6 separate regions of the Homo sapiens genome follow, and regions 1, 2, 3, 4 and 6 are each linked to region 5. The links are contacts of gene promoters, found by promoter capture Hi-C in blood cells and fetal thymus (Javierre and others, 2016). All regions are on one chromosome and are shown on one strand. Each heading gives the region's core, a stretch centred on a gene start or on the middle of the fragment in contact. The rest is flanking DNA. Distances are from core to core; before and after follow the strand shown. Region 1 holds the start of BTAF1 (B-TFIID TATA-box binding protein associated factor 1). Region 2 overlaps LOC105378424 (a long non-coding RNA gene). Region 3 has its middle 10 kb from the start of LINC01374. Region 4 overlaps KIF20B (kinesin family member 20B). Region 5 holds the start of RPP30 (ribonuclease P/MRP subunit p30). Region 6 overlaps LINC01374 (long intergenic non-protein coding RNA 1374).

The links. Contacts are between HindIII fragments. The CHiCAGO score rates a contact against its expected background, and 5 or more counts as called.
Region 1: a fragment that was not itself captured here is called in contact with the fragment with the promoter of RPP30 in region 5 in 8 of 17 cell types (naive CD4 T cells, fetal thymus, non-activated CD4 T cells and 5 more); the score reaches 11.8 in naive CD4 T cells.
Region 2: a contact is called between a fragment that was not itself captured here and the fragment with the promoter of RPP30 in region 5, in 7 of 17 cell types (M0 macrophages, naive B cells, naive CD4 T cells and 4 more). The highest score is 8.3, in M0 macrophages.
Region 3: a contact is called between a fragment that was not itself captured here and the fragment with the promoter of RPP30 in region 5, in 1 of 17 cell types (non-activated CD4 T cells). The highest score is 5.3, in non-activated CD4 T cells.
Region 4: a fragment that was not itself captured here is called in contact with the fragment with the promoter of RPP30 in region 5 in 15 of 17 cell types (total B cells, total CD4 T cells, naive B cells and 12 more); the score reaches 13.4 in total B cells.
Region 6: a fragment that was not itself captured here is called in contact with the fragment with the promoter of RPP30 in region 5 in 1 of 17 cell types (M0 macrophages); the score reaches 5.0 in M0 macrophages.

Annotation. Positions count from the first base shown.
Region 1 is chr10:91,921,071-91,924,376 of GRCh38, forward strand. BTAF1 (B-TFIID TATA-box binding protein associated factor 1) reads left to right here and starts at 2,700. Exons shown (of 38, transcript NM_003972.3): 1 at 2,700-3,020. The coding sequence starts at 3,007. RefSeq lists enhancers at 1,442-1,975, 2,323-2,432, 3,043-3,242 and a silencer at 2,683-2,982. The HindIII fragment of the contact is 2,027 bases long and covers 454-2,480 here.
Region 2 is chr10:89,824,279-89,827,661 of GRCh38, forward strand. It overlaps LOC105378424 (a long non-coding RNA gene), which reads right to left. Exons shown (of 3, transcript XR_946196.3): 2 at 905-1,044. Among named protein-coding and RNA genes, the nearest start is that of LINC00865, 3.5 kb to the right of the region's middle. The HindIII fragment of the contact is 1,591 bases long and covers 917-2,507 here.
Region 3 is chr10:89,842,284-89,845,514 of GRCh38, forward strand. No RefSeq gene overlaps it. Among named protein-coding and RNA genes, the nearest start is that of LINC01374, 10 kb to the right of the region's middle. The HindIII fragment of the contact is 2,367 bases long and covers 525-2,891 here.
Region 4 is chr10:89,770,825-89,774,300 of GRCh38, forward strand. KIF20B (kinesin family member 20B) reads left to right here. Exons shown (of 33, transcript NM_001284259.2): 32 at 1,865-2,007; 33 at 3,147-3,476. The coding sequence ends at 3,224. Among named protein-coding and RNA genes, the nearest start is that of LINC00865, 57 kb to the right of the region's middle. The HindIII fragment of the contact is 2,447 bases long and covers 641-3,087 here.
Region 5 is chr10:90,870,415-90,873,621 of GRCh38, forward strand. RPP30 (ribonuclease P/MRP subunit p30) reads left to right here and starts at 1,560. Exons shown (of 11, transcript NM_006413.5): 1 at 1,560-1,654. The coding sequence starts at 1,573. RefSeq lists enhancers at 1,398-1,692, 1,411-1,680, 1,811-1,870. The HindIII fragment of the contact is 10,238 bases long and covers 1-1,971 here.
Region 6 is chr10:89,862,229-89,865,376 of GRCh38, forward strand. All of the region lies in intron 1 of LINC01374 (long intergenic non-protein coding RNA 1374), which reads left to right. Among named protein-coding and RNA genes, the nearest start is that of LINC01374, 9.9 kb to the left of the region's middle. The HindIII fragment of the contact is 8,705 bases long and covers 1-3,148 here.

The DNA.
Region 1 (3,306 bases), core at 217-2,716, 1.1 Mb after region 5:
CTGAACTGGCATATGCCTATCTATAGTCTTTTACTTATTCCTCTTAGTATGGTTAGTCATACATTTTGCTGCAGCTCTATAAATATATTTGATTATAGAGTACTGCCCTACAAGCTGTTGGGATGCTGCATAATACAAGGTATATTCATTGGATTTCTTTTCAAAACCTAAATAATTCTTAACTCAGAAAACCATCTGGCAGGGGTGATGAACTGGTATAGATAACGGTGGTGAACTGGTACTATTATTATCCCCGTTTCACAGCTGAATAAATTGAGACTAGAAATTGCCACTTACTCAAGTTTCCATTGTTAACAAAAACAGTAAGCAATGTAGTTAATAATATTTTTGAGGGCTTCTCGTGGCAGTCACTTGGTTAAATGTTTTATGTGCATTAATTTAATCATCACCGCAACCCTATGAGTACTATTATTATCCTCATTTCCCAGATGAAGCTTAGAGAGGTTCTAAAATTCCCCCTGGAGACACTGCGATTCAGTGTGGTGAGAAAGGATTTAAAAACAAGCCGGTCCAATATCAATATATTTGATTATTACACTATCCTTTACAAATCTACACCACCAGTCCTTTCCTCTCTTCTAATGCCATTTAGACTATATACCCAATTATCTGATAATAAAAAGATTTAAAAAATATAACTAAGATCATTTTACTCACTTGCTTAAAACTCTATGACTTTCTACTTCATATGGAGCAAAGTCCAAATTCCTTACGATGATCCCTTTCTACTTCTCCCATCTCATTTCCCAACAGAGCAGACTTCTCTTACGCCTTTGCACTACGTATACCCTCTTCCTGGAAGGCTCCCAGATTGTCACACATTTAGCTACCTCTTGTCATTTAGGGCTCAGCTTAAGCTAATCCTGTTTTTCCCTGATTTACCCAGTAAGAGTAGGTCTTTAATCATACCATTAATTCCATCATTCTCTTTACATAGCACATAAATATATTTTCAATGTTTATCTATTTTCTTTTTCCTTTCCTTTTAATGTAAATTCAACCAGAGTAGGCACCTTGTCTGTTCTGGTTTCTTCAGAAGTTCCAGTCTCTCATATGGTAGGTGCTTAATTTTGGCTAAATGATTGCTGTACACGATCAGTAAAAAGTATCTGCTTGTTATTGAATGGTGGGAGATAAACTGATGAGGCAAGTAGGTGACTAAAGTGAAAATGTAAAGATATCTTGAACATCAACTTGATTAGATTTTAATAGCATGAACACCGCCAAGCAGAGTTTCTGATACAGAGAGGTGACAAACATTTGTTGAATGACTGGACAATAAATATTATTACTAGCTTGAATCTTGAGGCAAATTACTTAACCTTTCTGAGCTTAGTTTCCTTGTCTACGAAGATTAAAACTAACTTTTCAAGGCTTCCCTACAAATTATATGGATAATGCATGTCATGTGCCCAGCACACAGCAGGTACTTGTTAGTTTCTTTCTCTTTACATACATATATACTACTTTATGGTTTACAAAGTTCTTGTAAGCTCTTCTAGATTCATGACCTCATTTTATTCCCACAATCTTCTGCAGTACTTCTCATTAGCCTCATTTTACAGATGAAAAACAGACTCAAGGATTGAGACATAGCCTCTTCAGGTAATGAGAAGCCAATGGACATGCTTTATAAGCATAGGAGCGACATGATAAAAAGCAGTGAGGTTTTTTGAAGATTAATCTGTTGGCCTATAAAATGGGCTGAACTGAAAATTGGAGAAATATTATTTTGACTACTAGCATAAAAATCAAGTTTAAGGGCCGGGCGCAGTGGCTCACACCTGTAATCCCAGCACTTTGGGAGGCCGAGGCGGGCAGATCACTTGAGGCCAGGAGCAGGAGACAAGCCTGGCCTACATGGCGAAACCCCGTCTCTACTAAAAAATACAAAAAATTGGCCCGGCGTGGGGCTCGTGTGCCTCCCAGCTACTCGGGAGGTTGAGGCACATTTAGAATCGCTTGAACCCGGTAAGCGCAGGTTGGCAGTGAGCCGAGATCGCGCCACTGCACTCCAGCCTGGGCGACAGAGCGAAACTCGGTCAAAAAAAAAAAATCAAGTGTAAGATGATAAGGGCCTGGCAGAAGTGTTTAAAAGCCTAATGAACTTAAAAATATTGAAAAGCCAGATAAGTCCCCCAAAGGAACAAAAATTTAAAAATGGTAGTTTTCAAATCTGGCTGGCTGAGAAAATGATGGTACAAACAACATAAACAATTGAGAAATCAAACTTGGCAAAATCGTTGGTCAGAAGACCTTCTCTCCAATACCTAGGCAGAACTTCTGGCAAATAATGACAAACATCTGAGCCATTTCTTCAGTGTCATAGCGACTTTTTGCTTTCACTCCTCCCACTGGCTTCACCACCTGGACAAGAGCATGTTAAGGTCCTTCTGATCTTGCTTCCTAGATGCAGTACGGTGGGAAGCAGAATCTGGGTAGTGTGGAATTAGAAACCAAGCTTTCGAAGTTCCAGGACTTGGACTAAATCGCCTTTTTCCTTCTCTGTCAAATAAGGGGACCCTTACTTCACCTCCTTCCCTAGTTTTAAGACTAGACACCCTCTCCACATCAGCACAAAGCGCTTTTATTTAGGCGCGTGCCGCCAAACCAAAGGCGCTCGCGCCGAGCTAAGCTCCTGTCGGTGAGCTTACGTCACTTCCGGCGCGCTGACGCTCAGTTGTGCGTGCCGACGCCCGCGTCAGCAAAGAGCGGAGCTGAGGGTACCCGGTTTGAAGTCGTGCGGGTCGGAGGACTGCCGCCTCCGCTACCGTCTTGGACCCCTGCTTACCGGCCGCCGCGGGGACGAGCTCGGGTAGGCGGCAGGGCAGATGCCCGAGGGCCTGCGCTGGAACGCCCCACGCCGCACCGGCCGCTCCCCTGTGCTCCGCGGCCTGGGCCTGCGCCGCTCAGCTCTCTGGAAACTAGCGCCTCAGCTGCGCGGCGCGTAGGTCGCGGGGAGCTCCGAACCGCCGGCGCCCGGCCATGGCGGTCTCCAGGTGGGTCTTGCTCCTGACGAGCAAACTGGAAGGCGATTCAGGGAAGGCATGGTCTCCTCTTAGAGCCCCCACTCCTAGAGAAGAGCGGTTCTCATTGTCACTGGGCTCTGGAGCTTTCTTCAGTAGACTTCGGAGTTCGCCCCGTGGTCGGCGGGGGTTTGGGCTCGGGTTACTCCTGGGTAAATCGGTTCAATAATGCCTTTTTCTTGTTAATAGACCCCTTGGCACGTTAGAGCTGTTTTTTCTCTTTCCTCACCATGTTTCTGTTCTCTGGTTTCTCTTCCCT
Region 2 (3,383 bases), core at 462-2,961, 1.0 Mb before region 5:
TGAATAAAAATGATTAATATAAAAGTGATCAATTGTAAAAATTCAGAGAAAATAAATAACAAGAATGAAATAGTATTTATTAGTATCTCCTCCCTAACAAGGTAGTTATTATTTTACCCTCATTTTACACATGAATCAGCTAATACTAAGGTTCACCACTCAGGTCCGTTTGACTGCAAAACTCACACTCTGCTATATTGTTTCCAATTCTTGACTGTCATATGAATTCTGGTCACTGCCTTGAAACTGACTACTATAAAAGAGAAGTTGCCCCAAACCTGGTGTGGGAAGGAATCTTTTTACATGATGTAATTTGCAACCTCATTCTGAGAAGAAATTAACATTCCTGACAAAATGCTTAAGTAATATTCTGGAAAACATTAATGGACCAAAGTCTTGTTCTAGGAAACCAGTCACCTATCTACCCCACTGAATGACATTCAACAATCTAGTGGCTTTTAACAAACATTCTCTTCTTTTTGTATTTTCCTATCAAATGTTCTTATGAAGAATGTATTAATATTTCTGATTGGCTTACTGGAGGCCTTTGTCCTTGAAGCAAGATTGTAACAAACTTTGACAGTGCCCATAACTAAAATGTCTGAAGGGTTTTTGTGAACACTCTAGACTGGTGTATTTGCTGTGGAATCAAACTTTCTTATCAATCCAGTGGATGTGGATCCCCTCACCTGCCTACTGCTTACCAACCTCCTCCCTGCTTCTTCGTCATTTCTTCCACCCCTCAGTATTTCTGTTCCTTGTTGATCTGGACTGGAGACATTGAGATGGCCTAGGCCCACCCAGTTGGAGCCCTGTTTTGGAGTATCTTTTTCCTTAGATGGTTGTGAGTCACTTCTCAAAGGCCAAGTGGAATTTTTCAGGAAAAATATCATGGGAAGGATACCTCATGAGGATAAGCTTAACTGTCCAAGATTTATCCTGAAGAGAGGGAAGGATGCACTGGGAGATAAACACCTGGCTGTTTTAAAAGGTCATTCATTCACAGTCTGATCTGGCTATCAATAGAGACCGTTTCACTGAATCCTGGAACACAAGAGAGAGTAGTTAGTTACCTTTGCAGCTTAAGAATGCTTAAGCCAAGTAAGAGAAAATACCACTTCCTCTGGTGGACAGTAAGTCAAGGGAAATATTATGAGTTTAAAAATGTTTTTATATATTCACAAATAAAAGAACCATGATTAAGAGACTCTGAAATGCTTGGAGAAACACTGTTCTTGTTAACATTATAGTTAGGGGCAAATCACCTCCCAAATGAATTGTTGAAGATGCTATTGGCCTGAATGGACCATTGATCCAATCCAGAAAATTATCATTTCTTTTTGTTTTGGCTGGAAGGCTTAGCTTTTAACATTTTGACAACAATTATAGAGAAAGAGCAATATTGCTTATTTAGCATCCTGCTGAATTTCCTTATTGTAGAATTTTCATCTAGAGTTTGGGTAACTCTAAAATGCTTCAGAGGTATTAACAACATTGCAGTCTTCACCAAGTGAGGAAAACCTACAAAAAATGTGTGTGTAGGTGCAATGAAAAATTTTCAAGTCAATGTAAATGTGTTATAAGAGTGGAGAACCTGGAATTTTTAGAAGTAACTCAGCCCTAATACTTTCTGTCAAAATATAGAAGGCCACAGCTTTAGAAAATAAATACAAAACCTCAAACTTCTGTCCCTTTGAAGAATAAGAAAATATGAAACATAAAAATAAAATATCTGGAAAATACAGAGACATTTTGTTTTGCATCTTCATTTTCTTATTATTGACAAATTGAAAATTCCTGTTTTGTATTAAGCACAATGTTTGCTGTCATAAAACGTTTAAGCAGTGTGATCTGGGTTTATTTTTTGGAGTTGCCATCAGGGAGGACAGATTGCTTTTTTAAAAGTTACATTTCATTTTTTAAACCTTGAGCTAAAAAGCCTTTGGAGAATTGGGGGCACTGTCAGTGAGGTGCCTAACTCCTAGGGAATAGAAATAGAATGGCCTGGATGAAATATTTTTGTAAACTTCTCAAAATTCAAAAGTGTAACTATATGAATTTACTTTCTATTTAGTCCAGTGGATAAAAAGTGAAAGTTTGCCTTAAGGTTCAGAGTCTTGTGCTAAATTTGTTCAAAATTTCATGTGAAATAGTTACCAAATGGATACTTCCACCACACTTATCTACTTATGGTATCTGGTATTAAAAATAAAACCAAAGGAAGAAAAAGGCTGCTAATAATGGCAATGAAAACAGCTCATTCATTGGCTTTATTCCTTAGGCAAGGATTTCCAGAGCACCTTGATAGGTCTTAAGGATGTCAGATAGTGGGCATAGAGTGATGAGGAAGACAGGCACCATCCTTACCCTCATGGAGACTCTAGTTTAGTAGGAGAGGCAGGCCAAATGTGCAAAGGCCTGCAGGAGGCAGGAAAGGGACCTAAATTTGTGAAATGGTGTGAATTGATGGGAAGTGTGACAAACCAAAAAGAGAATGCACTGATTAAAGCTTTTCAAAAGAAATACTGTGTGGACCATGGAATGCATCTGTAAGCAGATTAGTCCTACATACCATTTGAAACCTCTACATTAAAGGAATAATTGCACAAATAACCATGCTAACCATGCAGGAAATAAGGACTATAAGGCATAATCCAAGATGTCATGAGAAAGTATAGTCATGATTCCTGACTATAATTCCTGAGGAAGTTGCATTTTACCAGAGACCCGAAAGATTTGATTAGTAGACTTAGTAGGCAGTAGGGACTGGAGACAGAAGATTTAAGGTGAATCTAACAGTAGAGGGCACAGGATATCTGAAACTTCCATGTGATTGGAGCCCAGTGAGTGAGGGGGGGAAGCAGCGAGGGATGAGCTGAAGTTTTAGGAGCCAGACAATGTAAGATTGAATAGGCTATGTTGAGAATTTAAACTTACTCTAAAACTAATGGGAATTTCTTAAAGGATTGTAAAAAAAAGGGAGGATTCGATCATATATATATATATATATATATATACACACATATATATGTATATATACATATATATGTATATATACGTATATATACATATATATATTACAAGCATGTTCTTATTGAGGTGTGGAGAATTCAGCAGAGGAAGAGGTCAAGGTGGGATGTGGATAGAACAGTTAGGAAGCTGTTGCAGCAGTTCAGGTGAAATGGACTGGGCTTTGGTCAGGTGGTTGGCCATTGAAATACAGAGACATTTTATCATTTGGGATTTGGAGTAGCTGTAACTGAAACTCCAAATTACAGTGGCTTGGACAGATATTTATTCCTCTCTCGCATAACTGAAATCTGTACATAGCCTAGAATTCAATTGGTGGCTCCACCATTCTTAGGGACCAGATTCCTTCCATT
Region 3 (3,231 bases), core at 458-2,957, 1.0 Mb before region 5:
GTGAGCCCCTGCACCTGGTGGCAGTTATCTTTTTTATGTAATGATTTCTTTTGGGTGGATACTCAGTAGTGGAATTACTGGGTCAAATGGTAGTTATATGTTTAGTTCTTTGAGAAATCGTCATACTGTTTTCCATAGAGGTTTTACTAATTTGCGTTCTCAACCAGAGTGTGTAAGTGTTCTCTTTTCTCCACATCCACACCAACATCTACTATTTTTTGACTTTTCAATAATAGCCATTTTGACTCGTGTAAGATGATGTCTCATTGTGGTTTTAATTTGCATTTCTCTGATGATTAGTGATGTTGAACATTTCTTCATATATTTGTTGGTTGCATGTATGTCTTCGAGAAATGTCTGTTCTTGTCCTTTGGCCACTTTTTGATAGGGTCATTTTTTTTTCTTGTAGAGGGGTCTGAGTTTCTTGTAGAGGCTGGATACTAGTCCTTTGTTGGAGCCATAATTTGCAAATTTTTCTCCTATTCTGTGGGTTATCTGTTTAATCTTTTTTTTTTCTATGCAGAAGCTTTTTAGTTTAGTTAAGCCCCATTTATCTGTTTTTGTTTTTGTTGCATTTGCTTTTGAGGCCTTAGTCATACATTCTTTGCCTAGGCCAGTGTCCAAAAGAGTATTTATTTTCTAGGTTTTCTTCTAGGATTTTTATAGTTCCAAGTCTTACATTTAAGTCTTTAGTTCATTTTGAGTAATTTTGTAGAAAATGAGAGATAGGAGTCCAATTTCATTATTTTGCATATGGCTAGCCAGTTTTCCCAGCACCTTTTATGGAATAGGGTGCCCTTTTCCCATTGCTTATTTTTGTTTACTTTGTCAAAGGTCAGCTGGTTGTGGGTATGTGGCTTTATTTCTGGTTCTCTATTTTGTTTCATTGATCTATGTGTCTATTTTTATACTAGTACCATGCTGTTTTGGTTACTACAGCCTTGTAGTATGATTTGAAGTCAGGTAATGTGATACCTCCAGCTTTTTTCTTTTGCTTAGGATTGCTTTGCTAATCTGGCTCTTTCCTGGTTCTGTATGAGTGTTAGAATTGTTTTTTCTTTTTCTGTGAAAAATGACGTTGGTAATTTGATAGGAACTGTACTGAACCACAGATTGCTTTGGGCAATAAATTATTGCCATATTAAAGATATTGATTCTTCACAATTCATGAGCATGGAATATTTTTCTTTTCTTTTTCTTTTTTTTTGAAACAGGGTCTCACTTTGTTAACCAGGCTGGAGTGCAGTGGCACAATCATAGCTCACTGAAGCCTCAACCTCCCAGACTCAAGCAATCCTCCTGCCTCAGCCTCCTAGGTAGCTGGGATTACAAGTGTTAGCCACCATGGCTGGCTAATTTTTAATTTTTTTGTAGAAACAAGGTCTCTCTATGTTGCCCACGTTGGTCTCAACCTCCTGGGCTCAATGGATCCTCCTGTCTTGGCCTCCCAAGGTGTTGGGATTACTGGCACGAGCCACTGTGCCCAGATGGGATGTTTTTCTGTTTGTGTCGTCTATGGTTTCTTTTATTGGTGTTTTGTATTTCTCCTTGTAGGAATCTTTAACCTCTCTGGTTAAATATATTCCTAGGTATTTAATTTTAGTTTTATTATATGTAGCTATCGTAAATGGAATTGAATTCTTGATTTGGTTTTCAGCTTGAGTGTTATTGGGGTATATAAATGCTACTGATTTTTGTACATTGGTTTTGTATTCTGAAACTTTACTGAACTTTACTGAAGTCATTTATTATGTCTAGGAGTATTTTTAAGGAATCTTTAGGGTTTTCTAGGTATAGGATCATGTCATCAGTGAAAAGAGATAATCTGACTTTTATTTTTTTTTCAGTTTGGATGCCTTTTATTTCTTTCTCTTGCCTGATTGTTCTGGCTAGGTCTTCCAGTACTATGTTGAATAGGAGAGGTGAGAGTAGACAGGCTTGTTCAGTTTCAGGTCATAGGGGAAATGCTTTTGGCTTTTCTCCTTTCAGTATGATGTTGGCCATGGGTTTGTAATGTGTGGCTTTTATTATTTGGAGGTATGTTCCTTCAATGTCTAGTTATATCATGAAGGGATGTTGGATTTTTATCAGATGCTTTTTCTGCATTTATTGAGATATGTTTTTTGTTCTTAATTTTCTTTATATGGTGAAACACATTTATTGATTTACATATGATTTACATATGTTGAACCATCCTTGCATCCCTGGAATAAAAACCACTGATCACTGTAATGAGATGAACAGGGTACCTCAGTTAGGAATGCAGAAATCATCCACCTTCTGCGTTGGTCTCACTGGGAGGTGCAGACTTGGGCTGTTCCTATTTGGCCATCTTGCCAGATCTCTCCCCCAATTCCCTGATTCTGTCAACAAAGACCCTGTGCTCAGATGGGAAGTGCCTTGTTTAAGGTTACACAAACATAACTTGAGCTTTAAGTAAGTGTGAGCCTTAGGAGAGGAGAGAGGAGAGAGGAAAGAGGAGAGAGGCCGGGTTTGGCAGGGGTGGTGGAGTGACTGTGGGAGAAGGCAAACACAATTTATGAAACAGAGTGTGTGTCATAGATTCAGGGAAGGAAGCAGGCCATTTATCTGAGGTGGATGGTTTGTGTAATGGAGTTAGCTGTGAGATGAGATGGGTAAGAGGTTGGGGCCAGATTATGGAAAGCCTATGTATGAAATGAGGAGCCATTGAAAATGTTTGAAAGGAATGCTAGGAGATCACAAGAAATAATAACTGAGAATTACAGCTGATCCTGAGGTTGCTCAGAGGTTTGCTCAGAGGTTGCTCAGAGGCTTTCATTCTACTTTAACCATAACTTAACAATAAAAAATACATTTTACACTGAATCAGCACATGCACACACACACACGCACACACACACAGAAACTTAAGCTTGACAAGACAAGGATTAACCTATGTGTGCTATACTCTATTTTCCACTTCATTCCACTAAACTCTAAGCCTCCCTTTTTTGGAGACTGAATTTATCCGGGGGAGGGGACTGGTGGACGGCATCCTAAGTGAAAGGCGTAGCGTGACAAACTCCGGGAGCTTTGAGGGCAAAGTGTGATCTGGGTAGGTTTCCAGATTTAGTAAATAAAAATAGAGAACACTCAGTTCAATTTGAATTTCAGATAAACAATATTCCATAGCTTGGGAAGAGCAAGACATTCTGTGTGGCTGGAACACAGGTGGGTGTGAGAAAATGGCAGAGGCGAGTCTGGCGTGTA
Region 4 (3,476 bases), core at 614-3,113, 1.1 Mb before region 5:
TCTCCCATCCATTCATACATGACAGAATGTTCTTTTCAAAGTGCAGATTGAATTATGTTACTCCTCTGATCCTTTAATGATTTCTCATTCTTCTGAATGACCTGATTTCTGACTCTCTCCAATCTATCTCTTATTATTCTACGGTTTGATAACTAGCCAGCTTCAATCCTGCTAACTTCTGACAGTTCCTAGAATTTGCCAGCTTCTTTCTTACCTTCATATCATTGATTTCTTTTGCTTTTTCCTGTGCTTTCTTTTATCTGGAACACACCCTGGCTTTTGTCTTAGCTGGCCCCTTACCCTTGAGCCCTCATAGCTGATGGAACGTTATTAGGGAGACACCTTCCTTCATCACCCTGTCACTACCCCTCATCCCCAGCATCACTTAATCTTTATTATTCAATCCTATTTTTTGTCTTAGCACTTTTTAAACTGTAATTCTTTGCTTTCTTATTATCTTTTACACTAGAATATAATCTGCACGGACAAAATGTCTGTCTAGTTCATACTGTCAGCTCTTAGTATAGTGGCTAGCACATAGTAGTGATGAGTTTGGCTCTAGGCCAACATATGTATGATTTTTAAACATTTCTATTTTTTTTAGGCTGTACCATAGGCAATTACAAAGACTTACCTGACAAGCTTCCCTTCCTACACCAGACTTGATGCATAGCCAATGCATTATAATCTCTTAAGGGAGTTATAGTCAAGGATCCAGCATCCCCCAAGCTAGTCATGCTCTTACTCATATTTGCATATTTAGCCTGAGTGCCTCCATTCAGAGCCTCTTTATTGAGGCCTTTGGTGGAGGCCTTCTTATGGAGGGGAACAGGAGGGGGAACCTTGAAGACGCTTTTCTCCACTGTAACTCGGTACTTTTCCACGTATAGCTCCCTCCAACCTCCAGCCCTGAGGTCTATAAAACTGCGAGAGCCTTTTGTTTGGGGCTGCCTGGGTGGTAAAATGACCACCACTTCTATGCTGATCTGTATTATTCTGTGGTGGACTATAGAAGAGGGTGGGTAGGAGCTGGTGCTTTCTCAGGTTTAGTCTCTCGCATATACTGTTGAAATAAGTGGTTAAAAAGCTGGGTTGTTACTTTCATTTTGGCTTGTTGTCTTAACTGGCTTCTCCGATACCTGGACTCTCAGCTCTCTCAAGCCCAGCTCAGCCCTTAACAAGTAGTCTTCTCAATTTAGTCTAATGCCTTAAATGTTTTTTCTATTTAAAAAAAAATATTTGATATCACATGTGTGTGAATTTCTATCCAGGAATTTTCCCACATGGAAATATGTTTTCTATTAAAAAAAAGTACTATGTACTATGTACATAGTAAGGAATTTAAAAATTCCTATTCTACTTCCCTAAAAGCAATCAGCTGTTAACAGTTTGGTTTCTCTCCATTTGTGTGTGGACTTGAAGTAAAGGGTTTACAAAGTATTTTCATGCAGCATTCATTGTGCATAACTTTATGCATGAGCATTGAACTAGATCATCTACCACCTTATTTTTAATGCTGCATGATCCACTATGTATATATCCTGCTCTTTTGCTTAACATAGCATAAACATTTTCCAAGTCATTAAAGATGCCTGAGGTTTTTTACTACATTGAACATTAATCAAATGATACTTTATTTGCTTTTTTTTTGCTGTCGATCATTATTTCATGTTCTCTTGACATTTACTTTTTTTCTTTGTGATTTGTCTATTCATGCCCTTTCACCATATATATATTGCAGTGTTTTTAGTTTGTGTATGTTCATTCTTTATTAAGGATTTCAAACCATCTTTATTAAGGATTTCAAATCACCTTTGCAATTAGAAAATTATTTCAGGAACTAATTAACAATTTTATTTTATAGCAAAGAAGATAATTGAAACAATGAGCTCTTCAAAGCTCTCAAATGTAGAAGCAAGTAAAGAAAATGTGTCTCAACCAAAACGAGCCAAACGGAAATTATACACAAGTGAAATTTCATCTCCTATTGATATATCAGGCCAAGTGGTAAGCTAGTATTTCTGTTTTCATCAATGTAGAACTGTTCGTGTTCTTTTTAATTTTTTACAGTGGTTTGAATTTCAATTCTTTAGATCTCTGAAAACACATGCTATAAAGGTCATGCTTTTAGTCTCACATGTGTTAAGTTTATACTAATTAAATATAAATACTGTATTAAATGTATATAAGCGTCATGCATTTGCATTTGAAAATGCATCAGAGGAATTTATTTCCAATAATAGAATTGTCACTATTTAGTAACTTATTTGCCTCCACAATCTTTTTTTCTTTTTCTTTCTCTTTTTTAAATCACGGGAGTTGTACAAATCTGGGCCCAAGTGTTCCTGGTAAAAATATAAAACTGACATTCAGCCATTTCCTCCCACCTTTCCCCTAAGCCTTTGAGGATCTATTAGGAAGAGACTGTAGTTATCACCCTGAGTCTATGATTCATTCTCCTGATTCAGAACAGTATGTGCTGTCACAGGGAAAGCTCAAATTTTCTGTCATGCTTGCATTTGCTTAGTGGATGAAAGTGAAGGTAAAAAAATAATTAAAAGAAATTAAAAAAATTAAAAAGAAGTGGCCAAGAAAAATCAGGAGAAACCTTTTTTGCCACAAGAGCTTTCAGATATGAGATTGACACTTGAATGCAAGATGTAAAGAGTTAGGGTAAATTAGGGCATGGTGTTGTAAGTACCATTCTGTCAGTCATTTTTGAGCATCTGTTTGATTAGTACCTGATTTCTTCCCTTGGCTGAAAATTGTTTTCTTAGTTACTATATAATGTGCTTTCTACTTTCTAAGTTATACATTTGTTGCCACGAAAGATCATTTCTTAAAAATTATTTGAGGCACTTGTCTCCAAATATTTTAGTAATTATTTTAAGTTATATCTGCCTTGAATTCAATATGGAGTCTAGGTTATTTTACTTCTAGAATTTGATAGTGTTGAATCTTTTACAAAGTCTGTTTTTTAAATAAATTTTTATAGAAGATGGCATATCTGTAGTCTAAGTAAAAAAAATTCTCCAATGTATCATTTCAGTTACTAAGCACATGAACATGTCTTACTCATTATAAACAAGCTTTTATTTTTATTTTCACTTACAAGCTTTGAAAAACTATGAAATTTTTAATTTCAGATTTTAATGGACCAGAAAATGAAGGAGAGTGATCACCAGATTATCAAACGACGACTTCGAACAAAAACAGCCAAATAAATCACTTATGGAAATGTTTAATATAAATTTTATAGTCATAGTCATTGGAACTTGCATCCTGTATTGTAAATATAAATGTATATATTATGCATTAAATCACTCTGCATATAGATTGCTGTTTTATACATAGTATAATTTTAATTCAATAAATGAGTCAAAATTTGTATATTTTTATAAGGCTTTTTTATAATAGCTTCTTTCAAACTGTATTTCCCTATTATCTCAGACATTGGATCAGTGAAGATCCTAGGA
Region 5 (3,207 bases), core at 310-2,809:
CTCATGAAAAACAAAGCGTTTGCTTCATATGACCTTATTCTATTTGCAGAAGTAATATTCTCTTCTACTCCCACTTAGGAAATATCAAGTACTGGAAAAGGCAAAATATCTCTTCTTTACAAAAGTTAACCAAGAAGAGAATTGCATGCTACTGCATGGAACAGATCCTTCCTCCCTTCTGAGACCGACAAGAAAATCGCATAAAGGAGTACTAGTTAAGGTGTGGTCCATAGACGAGAGACTATCTGTGAACTGTTTGTGATCAGTAAATAAGAGAAATTGATGGGTGAAGCATGTGGGTGGGCTCCTGTAATCACAGCTAGGAGAGAGGATTGCTTGCGTTAGAGTCCATCCTGGTCAATAACGAGATACTCTCTCTAAAAACAAAACAAAACGAAACGAAAACTCAGCAGGCCACCAACTAGGATACTCCCTAGGTCAAATGACCGAGCCTCTAATTCTGTGATTGTTGTTGCTGTGCGCACGTTAATAAAACAAACAAACAAACAAAAAGTGAAGATGTTTAGAAAGTTTACAGTACTTTGGCATTGTCCTGATAATCCAAGCTCCTGATCAGCAGATTCTATTCAGCCAGGTATAGGGCAGTTCGAGTGTTGTCAAATTTGTGATTCCCATGAGGCCAGGCTGCTTACTGGTAATGCATAAAGGACCACATCCTGGTTCGCGAAGAGTTTGGGGGTAGAGGAAAAGGAGGGAGAAACTGATCCTTCATCACAGGTAGTTTGAGAGCACTGATGTAAACTATAGTCACACTTTTGTAGTATAATTGATTATTATCCTCAATAGATCATTTACACTAAGTCGGAAAAAAGTGGAAACATCAGATATGTGGGATATGCGTCACCTTGTACATTTCTCAGCTGGAAAAGTGTAAAACATCTCAATTTTGCACCTCCCTTTTCAAACATGTCTTTGGCTAAATCAATGTTGGCTCTAACCGCTCGTCCTAGAGCGAGTCCCGCCATCTTGTGGTTGAAGATGTTGACTGCCACAGAGAATAGCGGGCTTTGACATCAACAGTTCTGATTGGGTAAAAAGACCCTCGTCTTGGGGTAGTTCTCTTTTGAAGTCCTAGAGTCCGTCACACACAAACGCCTTCTTCCCGGTAAGTCCATTGTAAACAACGGAATGGACTTTAGGGAAAGGAAAGGAAAACGTGTTCTTTAAGACTCTTTAAATAGCGTTTTCACCCATTAGCAGAATTCTCTGATTCATGAGCAGCACTAAGTAGATACCGTGTGCGTGCATTTTGAATGAATTCATTTCTACACTATTTTATAGGAGTATTGAATAGTTGGGAATTGGAACCCCTCCAGGGGGAACCAAACATTGTCGTTCAGAAGAAGACAAAGAGAGATTGAAATGAAGCTGTTGATTTCAACACACAAATTCTGGTGGTAGATGAAAGCAAAGCAAGTAAGTTTCTCCGAATCCCTAGTCAACTGGAGGTAGAGACGGACTGCGCAGGTTAACTACAGCTCCCAGCATGCCTGAGGGGCGGGCTCAGCGGCTGCGCAGACTGGCGCGCGCGGACGGTCATGGGACTTCAGCATGGCGGTGTTTGCAGATTTGGACCTGCGAGCGGGTTCTGACCTGAAGGCTCTGCGCGGACTTGTGGAGACAGCCGCTCACCGTGAGTTGCCCCGGCTTCGCGCCTGGCCAACCTCATGCCACCCAGACCATCGGGCCACACTCCGGAGTAACTATTTCCTGATGGGTCTCGGTCAGGTCTCCCAGAGTCTCTGGGATGTCCCTGGAGGCTGATGCCCGCCGAGGTGTTGGTCTGATTCCTAGCGCGGGAAACTCGAAGGTTCTGGGGGTTGTTATCTGGTTCAGCTACTTTCCTGCAATGAGGGAACTGAGGCCTAACGAGGGCGAGGGATTTGCATAGGGGCCTACAGCTGATAGGTGACAGAAGCCGGAGCTGGACTCCAAGGGTACAATCTTCTAAGCTTCTAAGTTACTATCAGCCCTTCCTGATTCTCACGACAGTGTCTAAACAAATACTGGAATTTGGGGCACGGACAGGAAGCGCCGTGGAGGCTCGGAGAAGGAGGAGGACGTGGGAGTGTTGGAACAATACTATCTAGACAGAGAGAGGGTAGGTGGGGGCAGAGGACATACACAGCGGAGTGGAGGTGGAGGAGGAGGATAGCATGGCCCAAATCGAAGGGAAGCGAAAGCCTTGAGAGACGAGAACCTGTTTTAACTATTGGAGTTAGTCATGGGTTCTGTATTCCGTAGACTGTAAAGTGTTGGAATAGAGAGATTAAAAAGAATCAAGAGGTTCGTGTAGTAACATCTGCTCCTCAGAGACAGTTTTCAGCTCATTGTGAGTTCTGATTACTGATACTGTTCAGAGGTGGTGCTAGAAATGACAACCACTTCTTGGCAAAGTGAATCACACCACTTTTTTATTGTTCTCTTTATGAAGTATCCGTGGCGAAATGACTGTCCCTTTCCACTGCTGCCACTAAATGAACGTTATCTCTGTGGTACTTTGCTCATCAGCACGAAGACGAAAGTAGACATGATGATCTGGGCCATTTGGCGCTAATGTTCTTTGATCCTGTAAAATAAGTTTTCCTAGGTGTAGTTTGTCGCAATTATTACCTCCTCAATGAGGCTTTTCCTGACGCCATCCCATTTTTGAATAAATCATGAGCTTCCTAAGAGAATTGCCATGTCTTATCCTTTTATTTACTGTGCTTAACACGTTCACTCTGCAGGCACCAGTACATGGCAGTTACTCAGTTAATGCTTGTGGAATAAACTGAACACATTAAAAAAATTAATACAAAAAAGAAAAGTTAATAATGATTTCTTTAGAGAATTTCCCCCAGTTTAAAATACACTTGGAAGAGGTGTGGTAATATATGTACATTGTTAGTGGTTATTTGTTTGTAAATTAAATGGAATTCATGGCATATAAAGTTGCCTCAACTTACAAGTCAAAGACAAAGGACTGCTCTGCTATTTGATGAGTCTGGAACTAAATAGTGGACATTTGCAAAGAATAGGAAAGACAGAGCCCTGGTTCTCAGTTTCTGATGTGATACAAGAAACCAATAATAAGCTTCAGAAATATACTGTGTAAATTAAAATACCCTAAAGCCTGATTGGGGAAGTAAGTACTCCTAAGCTGCCAGATGAGGAGTAGTCTAGGAAAAAGTTTTGTGGAGAAAC
Region 6 (3,148 bases), core at 6-2,505, 1.0 Mb before region 5:
CTCCTTTTTAATTGTTATGTGAGTCATTTGCATATTAATCTAAAGCCTAATTTGTTCAGCTCCCTGCTTCTTAAAAGTACATGCCAAATGACTGTTTGGTGCTTTTTAGGGACAGTATCAGGGTCTGTTCCCAGGCATTGGGAGTTGAGAGAGGGAAAAGTTGAAATAGGACAAAATATAAACAACTAAGATAGAGTTTTTTTTCAATAGGCTGGAGGACCTCGTAGTAGCATCTCTGGGTGTGCTGTCCCCTTATCATTTCACAATGCCTGACATTCCAACACAATGGATTCAAGTCCTTCTTTTTAATTTTTATTTATTTGTTTAATTTCAATAGTTTTGGGGGTACAGGTGGCTTTTGGTTACGTGGATAAGTTCTTTAGTGATGATTTCTGAGGTTTTTCATGCACCCATCACCTGAGCAGTGAACACTGTACCCAATATGTAGTCTTTTATCCCTCACCCTCCTCCATCCTTCCCTGCCAAATCCTCAAAGTCCATTATATCCTTCTTATGCCATTGCCTCCTCATAGCTTAGCTCCCACTTTTAAGTGAGAACATATGGTATTTGGTTTTCCATTCCTGAGTTACATTACTTGGAATAAGGGCCTTCAACTCCATCCAAGTTGCTGCAAAGGCCATAGTTCCATTCAATTTTAAGGCTGAGTAGTATTCCATGGTGCATATATACCACATTTGTTTATCCACTCATTGGTTGATGGGCATTTACATTGGGTCCATATTTTGCAATTGCGAGTTATGCTGCTGTAAACATGTGTGTGCATGTGTCTTTTTCATATAATGACTTCTTTTCCTTTGGGTAGATATCCAGTAGTGGGACTGCTGGGTCGAATGGCAGCTCTACTTTCATTTCCTTAAGGAATCTCCATACTATTTTCCATAGTGGTTATACTCATTACATTCCCACCAGCAGTGTGAAAGTGTTCCCTTTTCTCTGCATCCATGCCAATATCTATTATTTTTTGATATCTAAATTATGACTATTCTTGCAGGTGTAAGGTGGTATCTCATTGTGGTTTTAATTTGTCTTTCCCTGATAATTAGTGATGTTGAGCATTTTTTCATATTTTTCTTGGCCATTTGTATATCTTCTTTTGAGAATTGTCTACTCATGTCCTTTGCCCACTATTTGATGGGATTATTATTATTTTTTCTTGCAGATTTGTTTGAGTTCCTTGTAGGTTCTGGATATTAGTTCTTAGTTAGATATATAGTTTGCAAATGTTTTCTCCTACTCTGTGGATTGTTTTTTTCACTCTGCTGGTTATTTCTTTTGCTGTGCAGAAGGCTTTTAAATCAAGTCGTTCTTTAAAATGAAAATAGCTTTTGAGGGGAAAGGGGTGGGAAGTGGGACACCATACACTAGTTTTTGGTCAGAAAAATGATTTAGTGTATCAGTTCCAGTAAACAATGATGGTGTAGACATTGGATACTGAGCAGATTACCTGAGTCCAAATTCTTTGTGCAAATTCTTTAGCCTTTATGTTTCTCCATTTATTATACTGACATGAGGATAATGATGATGCTATCTAGTAGTTGCCATTAGGATGTAATGCACAACAATATGTCAGGAACATAGTGTAGTGCCTGCCTGGTAGTAATAAATGTTAGCTATTATTATTATTTCTCATTAATGTCAAGTGGCAATGGAGGGATAATTTTATAGCTGGAGCTGAGAGTGGCGAGAGGGAAAAGTTGAGATAGGACTAAATATAAACATCTAAGTTACAGTTTTTGTGTTTTTTTTCCCACAGGCTAGACCTAGCATCACTGGGCATGCTATTTCTTACTGTGTGCCAGTGTTTCAGACCAGAATGATAGATGCCTCCTTCACCCCTCTCTGGACTAATGGGCGATAAAGATTTTGTAATGAGACATGGAGAGATTGTTCTGTTTCCTACCTACTGCATCTGGTGTTTGCTTAGTTGACTGTCTTTTTTTCTCCAGGCAGTAAGTTACTTGAGGACACGGACTTTGTTGTATCAATCTTTTAAATATTACCACTAGCACAGAACCACTGAGAATATATTTATTTCTAAATAAAATATTCCTTGAATGAACAAATAAATAAATCTTCATATTTAATTCTTGAGGAAATCAGTTGTCTATATGTGTAGGCAGATATATTTAGATATTTATGTTCACAGCTAAATTTTTAAATAATCAAGATGATGCTAAATTCTATGTGCAAACTTGAGCAGATTCCAGAAATACTTACTCTGTTACTGGTCAGTGAAATTCACTTCTCCTTCAATTCTAGAGAAAACAAAAATCCCAAGCAAAATGATACAAGCCATTTAAACTCTCAAAAGTCTCAAAAAGTAGAAATGTTACCCACTGGAGCATAAGATGAACCAATTGAGGATGAGGATTTGAGAAATAAAATGTTTCATTTTTATCGACAGCGAGCCAGTATGATATTAAGACAAAAGACAGCCCTTGATGAAAGAGGCAGTCAATTCTATCTTTGAGAATTCAGTTTTAAAAAAACCAGATTAACTGGTGATTTTCCTGAAGTGACCTGTCAATTTGTTCCGATAGGTTAATTTGGTAGAATCAGCCTCAGATTGGTTTTTCAGCGTGTACCTTAATTGTATTACTTTTCAGCAAAATATTTCTGTCAATCAGAAAATGTTTTTAGAATTAACCTGCTTGCAACGCTGAGGTCAAGGAGAGCGGATCCCAAGGACAGCAGGGATCTCTATATATTGTGCACTAGGGAGAGAGCACCCTATGTGGAAATGTGGGGCTTGAAAATTCAGGGACCATGTTGGGCAGTAAGTTCATATTGATATATTTTCTTTTAGGAGAAGTCCTGGTACATCTGGAAGTGTAAAAAGTCATCAGTTCTAGTCTTGGCTCCCCCAGTTTCTTTATTTTGAAGGTTTATGACCTGAGGCAAGACACATCTTCCTATATCACTTTCCTTGACTAGAAAGTGTAAGAGCTGACACGGGAGACCTTATTTAGCCCCAACCTTATGTGAGTATACAAATTATACTCCCAAATCCGTTCCTGAGACATTGGGAGCTTTTAATGGTTTCAGGGATGTTTACAAAGTCAGAGCTATTTAATGTTTTCAGGAGCAGAGCTGTTTCCAATCCAGGGGCTATCTAAGGTGCTGTAT